Regions from separate parts of the Homo sapiens genome. Here region 1 is linked to region 2. Evidence: promoter capture Hi-C in human tissues and cell types (Jung and others, 2019). All regions are on one chromosome and are shown on one strand. The core of a region is centred on a gene start or on the middle of the fragment in contact, and the rest is flanking DNA. Distances in the headings are between cores, read along the strand shown.

Region 1 (7,058 bases), core at 28-2,527, 530 kb after region 2:
GAAGGGATCCAAGAACAGACACCAGCAACACAGGAGGGGCAAGTGGATGGGCAAGTGGAGGGGCAGGGCCAAGGCCAGGGCACTGTAACTCCTGCTCCCATCACCAAAGGCGGCTCCACTGGTCCCTGCGGCCACCTCCTCTGAAGCAGGCTCCCAGGACCCCAAAGTGAGACCCAGACAATGTTGGGGACACTTCCAGGCCACCGTGGGGAGAGGCAACTTAGCAAATGTTCGCCAGGTGCCAGCAGCTGCGCTCGCCCGTAGGCTCCTCCTAACCCGACAGCTTCCTAACTGTTCACACCTGCTTTTTCGTCGCTGCAAAACAAAGACGCACAGGTTTTACATAGGTCACCCCCGGGGCAGTCTCACAGCCAGAAAGAGACAAGAGCACAGACTCCCTCTGGGGACTGTGCTAGGGCTGTGGCCTCAAACCGAATGGGCTCCTGGGTGAACCTGCTGCGACCTGAGGGGGGTCCCTACAACCTGTGCGAGCCTCAGCTACTGCACCTGTACCTGGGAGGTGCTACTGTCAATCTATCGGTTACGGCAAGGGGCGGTGGAGTGATTCCTCTTGCTGGCCAATTTCACTTCAGTTTGCACCTGGCACAATCAACACTGGCAGAATTAACAAAACTAGACAAATATAGCCTCATGATCATTCATGCCTAGCTCTCGGTCAGTATTCAACTTCTTTCTTGTTCATGGTGTGTTACCCTAGGCAAGTCACTTCCCCTCCCTGGGTCTCCATCATCTCCTCAGTAAACTGGGAGCACAGAATAAAGCGCGTGGGAGGATTAAAGGGGACACTTTGGTCGCCCAACACTTGTTCACTGCATAACGATAATTCCAAGAGCGACATCACAGTAAAGACCCAGGCGCCGATCTAAGCGCGTTTCAGCCTCACGCGACGCCTACGAGGTTGAGCTGCGTCATCGGCCCCATTTCGTAGCGGAGGAAAGCGAGGCACTGGGCGGTCAGGCCGCTTGCCGGAGGTCGCCCAGCGTCCCAGCCGAGGACGCGGAACTCAGGGCCGGTCGGGTGTCAGCGCTCCGGAGCATGCGCAGAGGCAGCACGCCATCGGGGTCTTCAGGGGCCCGCGCAGTTCCTGGCGGGGTCGAACCCGAACTCACCCCGAGGGTCCTAACTCCCCACCTCCGCTGCCCATCCTCTCCAGCCCTATGGCGTCTACAAATCCAGACCTGCGGAAGCCCCAACTCACCCAGCGCCTCGCCCCGAGGAATCCGCCATTTTCCCGCCTTCCACCTCAAGGCCCGACCCGCCGGCTTTTCAAAGCCGGACCCGCCCCCTTGCTTGCGGGTCGGACCATTTGTGGAGACGCAGGAGGGGTGGCTGCGAGGCGTGAGGCAGCGCCGGCTAAGTGTGGAGAGCGCGGCCCCAGACGCGCGCTTCGCCTGTCCTCCCCTCGCACTTGGTCTCGCCCACCATCGGCGGTAGTGGGTAGGGGCGGTGGGTGGGACCTGATCTGTCGGACAGTAGGGGCGGGGCTTTTCGCGATGCCCCGCCCCTAGGAGCGCTGGCGTCACGCCCCCGTCCCCGCCTCTCCGGAACCCGGAAGCGGGAGCGCGCGGGGGAGCGGCGGGCGCGGCGGGGCGGAGCGGCTCGAGCAGCGGCGGGCTGGCAGGCGGTCGTCCGGCCGGGGACCCGGCCCGGGACCGGCGGCGCGCGGCGGCCGAGGCCAGGTGAGTACCAGGCAGCCTCGGGTTGGCGACTCGAGCTCGAAGCCTGCCTTTGGGGGCTGCGCAGAAGAGGGACGGAGCTGAGGGCTGATGGGGGACGCGACGGCAGGGGTCGAGGGGGCGGGAACGAGCCTGGGGGTCTTGGAGAGATTGCTGGGGATGAGGTGGAAGCGAGACGGTGAAGGAGAAAGTGGATGGGGATGGAGCTGGTGAGGGAGTTCGAGGGCGTGGGGGGGGTGAGTCTTGTGGCTTTGAGCAGCTTCTCTGAAGAGGACGTGGCTTAAGTGGTAATTGGGGGGTCGCAGGAAACGGCGTTGTGGGGAGGCACGGAGGCGGGAACGAGAGGCCCAGGCTGGGGGAGTGGGCAAGGCCAGGGGCGGGACAGCCGGGGTGCGGTTGAGGGGAAGGGGTGCGAGACCGATCTGGGGACGTCTGCCCGCGCGATTGAAGGAAGGGTGTCTGAGAAGAGGGCGGCGCCTGGCCCCCAGTGGGCGCTCAGTAAATGCGGGGGGTTCTGAACTAACTGATGCGGCAGCCGGCTATTGGGAAGCGGGGAAATGGGAGCTGGAAGGGAAGTAAACGGAGTAGAAGTCACGGTAAGAACTGAGGGTAGGCTTAGGGAGGGAGGGCCCGGAGAGGAGGGAAGAGAAGGAAGGGGTTAGAGTGGCCCCGTGCAGATAGATGTTGAGATGCAGCCCCTGGAGATTCCGTCCCCCCACCCTCCCCTCTTGATTCGTGTCCCTCCTGACTTCACACTTAACAGCTGGGTGACCTGGGACGAGTCCCAACACCCTCTGTGCCAGTGTCCTCGTCTTGGAAACTTCACCACCCTCCCCTTAAGACAGGACTAGCAGGATTCTGGGATTCCCTGGATCCAAGGAAGGGACCTCAGGGCCGGTTGTGGGGCCGGAACTGTGTTTCAGGAGGGAGTGTGCATGCACCCTCATGTACAGGACTGTCGCCACCTCCGCAGAGCTGCATCCTTGGACTTAAATGGGTAAAACGACATACAGGAAATCTGTCCCCCGGTTGCTCTGAGCTCAGCCCTGGAGAGGCACGACAGCCACGAGCCCTCCTTTCTTTCCTGGGCACCCTGGAGGCCAGGGGTCTTTAAGGGATGGCTTCTCTGCCTCTTTGTCTGAGGTGGGAGCCCGTGGGGACACTTTCCAGCCAGAGAGTCCCAACTCGGTTTGTTTTTTGATGTTGGAGTCTTCAGAATCTTAAGGTGTCCAGGAGCAGCCGGAGGTGACCTGGGCTACAGGAAAGTTATTCACATCTGACAGGCCTGGCTCTTGTGGCCCTGGCAGGGACTTTGTGCAGGGTGCTTTTGATTGGCATTCATTTCTCCCCTTTCCCAACTGTAGGGATCTTTATCTGGGATCTGCCAGAAGGGCTGGGGAACCCCAGCTTATGTTTAGTTTATAGCTCATTCAGGAGATGAACCCGGATAGCTGGAATATAAAGAGGGCCACAGAAAGATAAGCACCCCCTTCACTTCCAGAATATCCTGGCCTTTAGGAAAGGTGGCTTTGGCCTGGCTTGCCCCAGGACATGCAGTGACAGCCCACAGTCATGCCTCCTGCAAACATTGAACTGTAGGCTTGCACTGGCCTACAGAACAGGACCGGGATCTTCTGATCCCGCAGCCCTGCAATCGCCTCTTCCCTGCCGCTAGAGAATGGCCAAGCAGGGTCTTGTGGGGGGAGCACTGTGTTGGAGATCCTGGCTTTGGTCAAGTCTCTGTGCCTGTTTCTGACCTCTCACCTGCAAAATGAATGAATTGACCTCCATCAGCGTTTTTCAACCTTGAAACCCAACTCTTCTCATCACCGTCTTGTCTCCAGTCCATGTCCCCCAGCTCCCGGCCTTGAACTCCTCACAGCACCCCCACTCTCCATTCCTGGCTGCGATGATCCTACTTTTATTCCGTTTTCCATTCGACAGTTTGTATCCAAAAATGATTTTTTTTCAACCGCTTCTTCATCGTCCAAATAGAAAATTGCGGTGTTGAAGGTGCTTTTGCACATTGCACCTATTCCCAAAGCTTTGGAAACTGCAAATTTCTGGAAATCCCGAGGCAGTACCGTCCCTCGGGTCCAGTCTGGTGACTCAGTGGAGCAGGTAGAGACGTGGGAATCTCCCCTTTCTGTTTGGCTGTAGGATTCGTTATTCTCTCCCCACATGGACTTGTTAACTTGCTGCTTCCCATTCCTCATCTCTTCCAAATGGTGTGTCTTGGGTGGGCCTAGATTTCAGTTAGGCAAGGGTTGATTGTGCCAGACACTTGGTAGATTCCTGGGGACAGAGGTGAATCCTTATGACCCAGAGGACGGACACGCTAATGCCCGCCCCCGACAACTTTGCACTTCCTCTTCAGAAAGAATGGAGTTCAAGCTGGGCCGCGGTGGCTCAGGCCTGTAATCCCTTTGGGAGGCCAAGGTGGGTGGATCACAAGGTCAGGAGTTCAAGACCAGCCTGACCAATATGGAGAAACCCTGTCTCCACTAAAAATACAAAAATTAGCCCGGCGTGGTGATGTGCGCCTGTAGTCCCAGCTACTCTGGAGGCTGAGACAGGAGAATTGCTTGAACCCAGGAGGCGGAGTTTGCAGCCAGCCAAGATTGCGCCATTGCACTCCAGTCTGGGTGACAGAGCAAGATGCCCTCAAAAATAATAATAATTAAAAAAAAGAATGGAATTCAGATCAGGTCATCAGTACGGTGACAGAGGGGCCACAAGATATTATGGGGGGAGAATTAGGGACAACCAATGCAAGCTTTAGGACAAGGGGGATTCCAGCAAGTTTCCTCGGAAGTAGTGGCTGGCCCCAGGTCAAACCTGGAAAGATACCACGTGTTAAACCACTCCGGGTGGAAGGGATTGCACAAGCAGATACCTTTGAAGCCCGGCCTGTACAGGGCATCCCAGCTCTCTCATTCTGCCAACCGGCAGTGCGAGGGTCCTTGTTCTTATCTTCCTGATACAGAAACAGGCCCAGGCAGGTGATGACTTCAGAGATGGTTCCTTGAGCTTTCTAGAAACATGCAGGATCCTTAGTAACCTTTAACTGGGGAAACCCAAATCTCCAGGGCCGTTTCTCACCCGCATCACCATTGACAGTTGGGGCTGTGCACTGTAGAATGTGGAATAGTGTCCCTGGCTGTCACCCATGAGATGCCAGTAGTATTCCATCCCCTCCAAGGGGTAACAACTGAAAATGACTCCAGCCATGGCCACGTGTCCCCTGGGGGCAGAATCACCTCCCCCGCCAGGTGAAATGTGATGCTCATTAGTAAAACCTGGTTCCCCTCTAGGGCCCATCATTGCCTTGGTGGGTCCTTGGTGTTTGTGGAGCCCCTGAGGAACTGCCACTAAGAGTGGGAACAGGGGCAGAGACCAGGAACTGAATCCTGCCATCCAGTCAGTTCTTAATCAGGAGGGAGCGGGTCTTGATAAAAAGGAGGAACCGTTAGGAACGGACTGTGGGAGGGTAGGCAACGTGCCCGAGGGTGGACAGCGGGTGCCCTTGTCTTTTCTTTGTCTTGTGACTGACCTGGATTTCTGGAGGAACTGTCCTCGTCTTAGAATGATCTGTTGCTTTTCTTCTGAGATTAGAGGTATTAGATTCTCTCCCAAGAGCTACTTTGGAGGTTGCCCCGGATAAACGTCGCTTTTGTAAGCTGCATTATCTCTTCCATGGGCCCTTTCGCCCGCCCGTTCCCAAGCACATACTGCTGAATTTTTGTTCTTGGTCCATCTTGCTGTCCCCTTCCCTGCTTGGCCCCCTCCTTGACCGTGACTTTGCTGCTTTACCTTGATTGGAGGAGACGCTCTGGGGCCACGGGACTGACGGTCCCTTCTGGGTGCTGCCCCCACACCCCACCCACCAGCCCTTTGTGTGCCCGGCATCCCCAGCCCAGCTGTGCCAGGCTGCCCCTGCTCGGCCGGCCATTCAGACGGCCCCAGGCGGCCTCTCGGCAAAGCAAGACAAGCCCTTCTCTTCTGCCCTCGTGGTCCCTGGAGTGGCAGAACAAAGGGCTCTGTCTCCACACCAGCCCACCGCCGCAGCCCAGAGCCCCGTTCCCTTTCAATTTCTATCGTGGCTGGGAAAGAGCCTCAGAGATTAGGCATGTTTCAGAAATGCAGCTGACGAGTTTGGGTTCTACTCATTTCCTCAGCGAGACTTTCTGAGCCCGAGCCCGATGATAAATAAAGTAGTGATTCAAGGGTTCAGCCCATGGGTTCGTCGGAGTGATGAATAAGATATCCTTGTCTGACTCACTTGTTTAAAACCCATCTCTGCCCTGCTGCACAGGGCTGTATGTGCAAGAGAAGGAGCCCCGCTAGGGGTGTTTCATGACTGTTGTTGCTGGGTGCCTGAGTTTGCTAGGGCTGCTGTAACAGAACCGCACGCTGGGTGGCCAGAACGACAGAAGTATATTGGCTTGCAGTTCTAGAGGCCAGACGTTTAAGATCACATTCAAGATCAAGGTGTTGGCAGGGTTCGTGCCTTCGGAGGGCTGTGAGAATCTGTTCCACGCCTCTCTCTGTTGGCTCATACATAGCCGTCTTCCCCTGGGTCTTCACATCGTCCTCCCTCTGTGCCTGTCTCTGTGTCCAAATTTCCTCTTATGAGGACAGCAGTCATATGGAAGGGGGCCCACCCTAATGACATCATTTTAACTGAATCATCCCCATAAAGACCCTGTCTCTAGGCGAGGCTTGGTGGCACACGCCTGTAATCTCAGCCCTTTGGGAGGCTGAGGCAGGAGGATCACTTGAGGCCAGGAGTTTAAGACCAGCCTGGACAACATAGCAAGATCCCATCTCTACAAAAAAATACTAAAATTAGCTAGACATGATGGTGAATGCCTGTGGTCCCAGCACTTTAAGAAGCTGAGACAGACAGATCGCTTGAGCCTGGGAGTTTGAGGCTACAGTGAGCTATGATCATGGCACTGCATTCCAGCCTGGGTGACAGAACGACACCCCCATCTCTTAAAAAAAAAAAAAATCCCAAATATACTCATACTCTGAAGTTCTGAGGTTTAGGATTTCAATATGTGAATATTTCTTTGTGGAGGGGAGTGGTGGACACAGCTCAGCCCATAATACTGAGAAAAGGACAAATTCAAATTACATTTTTATTTATTTGTTTATTTATTTTGGGGGCGGGGGCAGAGTCTCACTCTGTCACCCAGGCTGGGGTGCAGTGACGCGATCTCAGCTCACTGCAACCTCTGTCTCCCAGGTTCAAGTGATTCTCCTGCCTCAGCCTCCCGAGTAGCTGGGACTACAGGCGTGCGCCACCACGCCCAGCTACTTTTTGTATTTTTAGTAGAGATGGGCTTTCATTGTGTT
Region 2 (6,681 bases), core at 679-3,178:
ACTACAGGTGTGTGCCACCACACCTGACTAAGTTTTGTAATTTTAGTAGAGATAGGGTTTCACTATGTTAGCCAGGCTGTTCTCAGACTCCTAACCTCAAGTGATCTGCCCGCTTCAGCCTCCCAAAGTGCTGGGATTACAGGCGTCAGCCACTACGCCTGGCCTCCTTTCAAGCCTTTTCTTTTTCTTTCTTTCTTTTTTTTTTTTGAGATGGAGTCTTACTCTGTCACTCAGACTGCAGTGCAATGGCGTGGTCTTGGCTTACCGCAACCTCCACCTCCCGGGTTCAAGCGATTCTCCCGCCTCAGCCTCCCAAGTAGCTGGGACTACAGGCGCGGGCCACCACACCCGGCTAATTTTTGTATTTTTCGTAGAAACAGGGTTTCACTATGTTGGCCAGGCTGGTCTCAGACTCCTAACCTCAAGTGATCTGCCCGCCTTGGACTCCCAAAGTGCTGTGATTACAGTATGAGCCACTGCAACAGGCCTCCTTTCAAGCTGTTTAATCGAACACCAACTGTGTGTTATGTATTAAGGGACAATGACCTTGTACCTTAATACAAGACGAGCGTGTAGTCCCCTGAACTACACGCTCGCCGAAGCCAAACAGACCTTGTTTGGGTCATTGTACCTTAATACATAACACACAATTGGCGTTCGATCAAACAGCGGACAACCACCTCTCAATGTCCATCTACCTGGCAAACTCCTAGTTATTCATTTAAACAATCTAGAGACGGGGTTGGGTACTGAACGTGACAGATGTGATACCTGCCCTGAGCAGCCGCACCACCTGGTGACTATCCATTATTCAAAGGCCAGCTCTGCTTCCTAACTTTAAACTTCTTTAGAGCAGGACTGGAATCCTGTTGCCTAAATGAACGAACATTGATAAACACTTGCCAATAACTAAAACTCAGAGGGATAATTCTTTTTGATTTCTGCTGCAGGCATCTGAAATGCACAAAACCTTGCTGGACCCACAGGGAGACGGCAAAGGGGGCTGGACAGTGCCTGTCCCATGGACTCCCATCCGGCCTCTATCACTTCCTCCCTAGAAAACACTAAAACAATCACGCTACTCCTGCTAATCTCCGTCATCAGTCTGCAAAACAACAGCAAAATCCCTGATCCAGAGCCCAGGGGGGAGGATCGAAAACCTCGTTGTTCTCCATTACAGTGGCACCCAGCAGCCGCTCTGTGCAGGGCCGTGGGAACAGCGGAACAGGGATCGTGTGGACCGAGCTGCTCCACTTCAAAGAATAAACGACCCGAAAGAAAGAGGTTTGTGGCAGAGCCCGGACTGGAATCCGAGAAAGGAAGCGCTCGATGGGACGGCCTGAGTGCCGGAGGGGACTCACGCTGCTGCTGCTCCAGCGCCAGCTTGCACTTGTAGTAACTGTAGAATTCGCCTCCGAAAAGAAACGAGAATTTGGGGTTGTCCTTCTGCTTCTCCATAGTCATCTTCTCAAACTCGGGCCCATTGCGAGCCACGAACTGGGCGAGCTTGTCGATGACATTTCGAAGCTCCTGGTCTGGAGGACGGAGAAAAGGCCACGCGGGGCGTCAGCGAGGACCGCCCAAAGCCGGGGGACTCGGCGCCCCAGCCCCCGTCCGCCTTGCCGGGGACCCCAAGGGGGTGGGCCCCGAAGAGGCCGCCCTTGTACGGGTCCCGATAGGGGCCACACGCTCGCCGGGAATGCGGGGACCCACGGGAGAGGCCGCAGGCGAAGCCGCGAGGCCGAGCCCCGCCCCCTCCCAGACCCGGGGACTCCGGGAGGCGGGGCCGGCCAATAGGAGGTTCCGGGGAGAGAGAAACGGTCTCTCGGCCGGTTTGGGTCTCACCATCGGGGGGCAGCGGCATCTCCATGGCTCCGGCCGCGGGGAACGTCCTCCGGCGCCACACGATCGACCACCAGCGCCGTCTGCGGAAGCCGGCCGGAAGTGGCGCGAGGGAGCCGTTTACGGCGGGCTTCTAGGGCCGCTTCCGCCCGCCACTTACGGCCGTCGCTGGGAAACTCCGGAAGTGAGAGCGGGAGGCAGGCGGGAAGAAGCCGCGCGATGCCTGGCGCGCGGGAGGGGCTAGCGACGCGCACGCGCAGAAGTTTCCTGACACTTTCGCAGAGTGGGTCCCCGTCGCGCGGCGCCGCGGAAAGGCTGGAACGGCGCGGGTGGGTGTTAGTCGAGACCGGGGGGCGCGGGGCGTGCCCCTTGGTCGGCGTCGCAGCCCGATGGGCTGGCTGGTTGCTACCTCCGGGCGACCAGGGGCCTGGGGACTTCGTGCCTGGGCCAGGGTCTCTTTCCTTTCGCGGGCACAGTGAGGAGACTGCGAGGTGAGGTGCGTCCGGGTGGATCCCGGGCTGCGGCGACTGTCACATTCTCCCCGGCCAGACCGGAGGTGGAGCAGAACTGGGGGCGACGAGCTTGACTGGGATTGCAGCTGGACGTATTTAGGTTCAAAACATCCTCCTCCTGGCTTTCTTCCGCTCCACTCTTTGGTCAGGAAGACTGGGGCGGGGTACCCCCCAACCCATGCCCTCAAATTGCTGGCCTAGAGGGCACAGCGCCTTTCTAAAAGCTGCAGTTGGGTTGCCTCTAAAATAATGAAGCTAACCCTTGCTAATTGTGGGGAAAAGATAGCCAGAAGCAGCAAATTTCTGCTGTGGACGTCCGATATAAACTGATCCTCTTGAGATGGTTAATGCTTAGTTGGCTATACCTGCCCCCCGCCCCCGCCGCTTTTTTTTCCTTTATCCGTTTTTTTTTTTCTTTTTTCTTGAGACAAGGTCTTGCTCTGTGGCCCACGCTGGAGTGCAGTGTCATGATCATAGCTCACTAGCCCTGAACTCCTGTGCTCAAGTAATCCTCCCGCCTCGGCCTCCCAAAGTGCTAGGATTATAGGCATGAGCTACTTTACCCAGCCTGTTTTTTTCTGTGCAAATAAATGCACATGTATTTTAGATTAGTTTCATTTTTATTGTTAACAGCATTTTTCCACCAGATGCTTATGGATTGACAACTCTACATCAAGTGTTGCTGTAGGCTAGGAATCAACAAAACTTTTTGTATAAAAGGGACAGAAAGCAAATATTTTAGACTCTGCAGGTCAGGAGGCAAGATCAAGGATTTTTTTTTTTCTAAATGTCCTCTAGTTCATATTTTCTCATGAAGATCGAGGATCTTAATTGTTTGGTTTTTTTTTTTTTTTGAGACACAGTCTTGCTCTCTCTCGCCCAAGCTGGAGTGCAGTGGTGTGATCTCGGTTCACTGCAACCTCTGCCTCCCGTGCTCAAGCAATTCTCCTGCCTCAGCCTCCAGGGGAGCTGGGACTACAGGTGCGCACCACCACGCCCGGCTAATTTTTGCATTTTTAGTAGAGATGGGGTTTCACCAGGTTGGCCATGCTGGTCTTGAACTCCTGACCTCACATGATCTGCCTGCCTTGGCCTCCCAGACTGCTGGGATTACAGGTGTGAGCCACCCTACCCAGCCTTATTTAGGTATTTCTATAACCAGAAAGAAAAGTTCATAAAATTTTTGTTGGTGAAAATCAAAATATGATAACTGAGTAGTTTCTTAAATACAAGTTGCTACAGTTTGAATGTTTGTTCCTAATCCCCAGTGAAACAGTATTAAGAGGTGGAGCCTTTAAGAGGTGATTGGGTTATGAGGTCGTGCCATTCATGTGTTAATGGATAAATAGGTTATCATGGGAGTGGGACTGGTTTGGAGCTTGCAGTGAGCTGAGATTGCACCACTGCACTCCAGCCTGGGCGACAGAGTGAGACTCCATCTCAAAAAAAAAAAATAAATAAAATAAATAAAATAAAATAAAAAGAGGAAGAAAGGCCAGGCTCAGTGGCTCATGCCTGTAATTCCAGCACCTTGGGAGGCCAAGGCACGCAGATCACCTGAGGTCAGGAGTTCGAGACCAGCCTGGCCAACATGGAGAAATCCCATCTCTACTAAAAATACAAAAATTAGCCGGGCATGGTGGCGGATGCCTGTAATCCCATCTACTTGGGAGGCTGAGGCACGAGAATCACTTGGACCCAGAAGGCAAAGGTTGAGGTGGAGGTTACAGTGAGCCAAAGTCGTGCCACTGCACTCCAGCCTGGGCAACAGAGCAGGACTCCGTTTCAAAAAAAAAAGGAAGAGAGACCTGAGCTTGCACACAGCCTGCTAGCCATGTGATGCCCTGTGCTACCTCAAGACTCTGCAGAGTCCCCACCAGCAAGAAGGCCCTTGATTTTGGATATCTCAGCCTCCAGAACTGTAAGAAATAAATTTCTCTTCTTTAAAAATTGCCCAGTCTCAGGTGTTCTTTTATAGCGATGCAAAATGGACTAAGACCCAAGTCTATTCATAAGAGTGGAATTCTTTTGGGGGATAACATTTCACTTAATTGGGGCTCCCAGTTGTATTTCCTGTCGTCAATTGATGGTACATGTTCACCTTTGAAAAACCTTCCTGGCTCACAAAAACAGGCGGCCAGTTGGATGTGGTTTATAGATACGGTCATGCACAACTCAGATCTCAGCTCTGCTCTCAGGGGACTCAGTCTATGGCGGGGAAGAGTCCCAAAATCAGTAAACAAATATATCATCTCAAAGGTGTTATTAAGAAGAGGATGCTGAGACTATGATACAAGGGAGGGTGAGGCCCAGGCTGATAGGGTTGTCAGGAAAGGCTCTCGAGGTGAGGTCTGCACTATGATCTGAACAAGGGGCCAGCTCTAAACACCCTAAACAGGCAGAGAGAACAGTGTGGGATCATACTGTTTATTTAAAAAATATTTTTTATTTTTTATTTTTTTTGAGATGGAGTTTCACTCTTGTTGCCCAGGCTGGAGTGCAATGGCGTGATCGCGGCTCACCACAGCCTCCGCCTCCCGGGTTCAAGCAATTCTCCTGCTTCAGCCTCTCGAGTAGCTGGGATTACAGGCATGCGACACCACACCCGGCTAGTTTTTTATTTTTAGTAGAGATGGGGTTTCTGCCTGTTGGTCAGACTGGCCTCAAACTCCCAACCTCAGGTGATCCACCCGCCTCAGCTTCCCAAAGTGCTGGGATTACAGGCATGAGCCACCGTGCCTGGCCCTAAATTTTTTATATATTTTTTTGAGACGGAGTCCTGTCTGTTGCCCAGCCTAGAGTGCTGTGGTTCAATCTCGGCTCACTGCACCTTCCGCCTCCCACACTCAAGTGATTCTCCTGCCTCAGCCTCCTAAGTAGATGGGATTACAGGCGCCTGCCATCACACCCAGCTAATCTTTGTATTTTTAGTAAAAACGGGGTTTCACCATGTTGGCCAGGCTGGTCTTGAACTCCTGACCTCAACTGATTTGCCTGCCCTGGCTTCCTAAAGTGCAGGGATTACAGGCATGAGCCACCGTGCCCAGCCCATACTATTTGAAGAACAGTCAGTAATCCAGAGTGTGGGCACTTTTCATGCCAGGTAAAATCTACATGAAGAAGTTTTTTTTGTTTTTTTTGTTTTTTTTTTTTTTGAGACAGAGTCTTGCTCTGTCACCCAGGCTGGAGTGCAGTGGTGTGATCTCTGCTCACTGCAACTTCTGCCTCTGGGGTTCAAGCAATTCTGCCTCAGCCTCCCGAGTAGCTGGGACTACAGGTGCACACCACACCCAGCTAATTTTTTTTTTTTTCTGAGGAGTCTCACTCTGTTGCCCAGACCGGAGTCCAGTGGTGCAGTCTCTGCTCACTGCAAGCTCCACCTCCCGGGTTCACACCATTCTCCTGCCTCAGCCTCCCGAGTAGCTGGGACTACAGGCACCCGCCACCGCGCCCGGCTAATTTTTTGTATTTTTAGTAGAGACGGGGTTTCACCGTGTTAGCCAGGATGGTCTCAATCTCCTGACCTCGTGATCCGCCCACCTCGGCCTCCCAAAGTGCTGGGATTACAGGCGTGAGCCACTGCGCCCGGCCTACCCCCAGCTAATTTTTGTATTTTTAGTAGAGATGGTTTCACCATGTTGGCCAGGCTGGTCTAAAACTCCTGACCTCAGGTGATCCACCTGCCTCGGCCTCCCAAAGTGCTGGGATTACAGGTGTGAGCCACCGTGCCCGGCTACATCAAGGAGTTTTAACTTGGGATCTCCAATGGATAGATTTCAGAGAACCATGAACAAAATTGGTAGCAAAATAAATGCCTTTTTGAGGGTTGAAGATACACAGCGTTTACAGGATTCTTAATAGGCTCCTCAATCAGAACAGGTTAATGAATCTGTATTGTCATTTTTTTTTTTTTTTAGACAGAGTCTCACTCTGTTGCCTAGGCTGGAGTGCAGTAGCATGATCTCGGCTCACTGCAACCTCCGCCTCCCAAGTTCAAGAGATTCTCCTGCCTCAGCCTCCTGAGTAGCTGGGATTATAGGCATGTGCCATGACACCCAGCTAATTTTTGTATTTTTAGTAGAGACAGGGTTTCACCATGCTGGCCAGGCTGGTCTTGAACTCCTGACCTCGTGATCCACCCGCCTCGGCCTCCTAAAGTGTTGGCATGACAGACGTGAGCTGCTGCGCCCGGGCGATGTTGTGATTTTTGAGGCTGCATAGGATGCCATGGTGTGGACTCACCACAATTTACTGAAGTGAGACTCTAGTCTCCTGGCTTGGTTCCATTTTTAGGCCACTGTTAAAAGTGTCTTAAGTGTATATAGGG

Evidence for each region. The method cuts DNA at HindIII sites, captures the fragments that hold promoters and counts their contacts. A contact is called where the count stands out against the background at its distance.
Region 1: the fragment with the promoter of HAUS8 here is called in contact with the fragment with the promoter of CHERP in region 2 in 1 of the 25 tissues and cell types used here (dorsolateral prefrontal cortex).

The regions. Positions count from the first base shown.
Region 1 is chr19:17,074,175-17,081,232 of GRCh38, forward strand. It overlaps HAUS8 (HAUS augmin like complex subunit 8), which reads right to left and starts at 1,278. Exons shown (of 11, transcript NM_033417.2): 1 at 1,220-1,278. The coding sequence starts at 1,248. MYO9B (myosin IXB) reads left to right here and starts at 1,603. Exons shown (of 40, transcript NM_004145.4): 1 at 1,603-1,700. RefSeq lists enhancers at 1,021-1,220, 5,585-6,122 and silencers at 1,401-1,750, 1,745-2,039, 5,473-5,572. The HindIII fragment of the contact is 30,356 bases long and covers 1-4,107 here.
Region 2 is chr19:16,540,509-16,547,189 of GRCh38, forward strand. It overlaps CHERP (calcium homeostasis endoplasmic reticulum protein), which reads right to left and starts at 1,929. Exons shown (of 17, transcript NM_006387.6): 1 at 1,846-1,929; 2 at 1,362-1,535. The coding sequence starts at 1,870. RefSeq lists silencers at 1,561-1,630, 1,641-1,830. The HindIII fragment of the contact is 9,580 bases long and covers 1-3,593 here.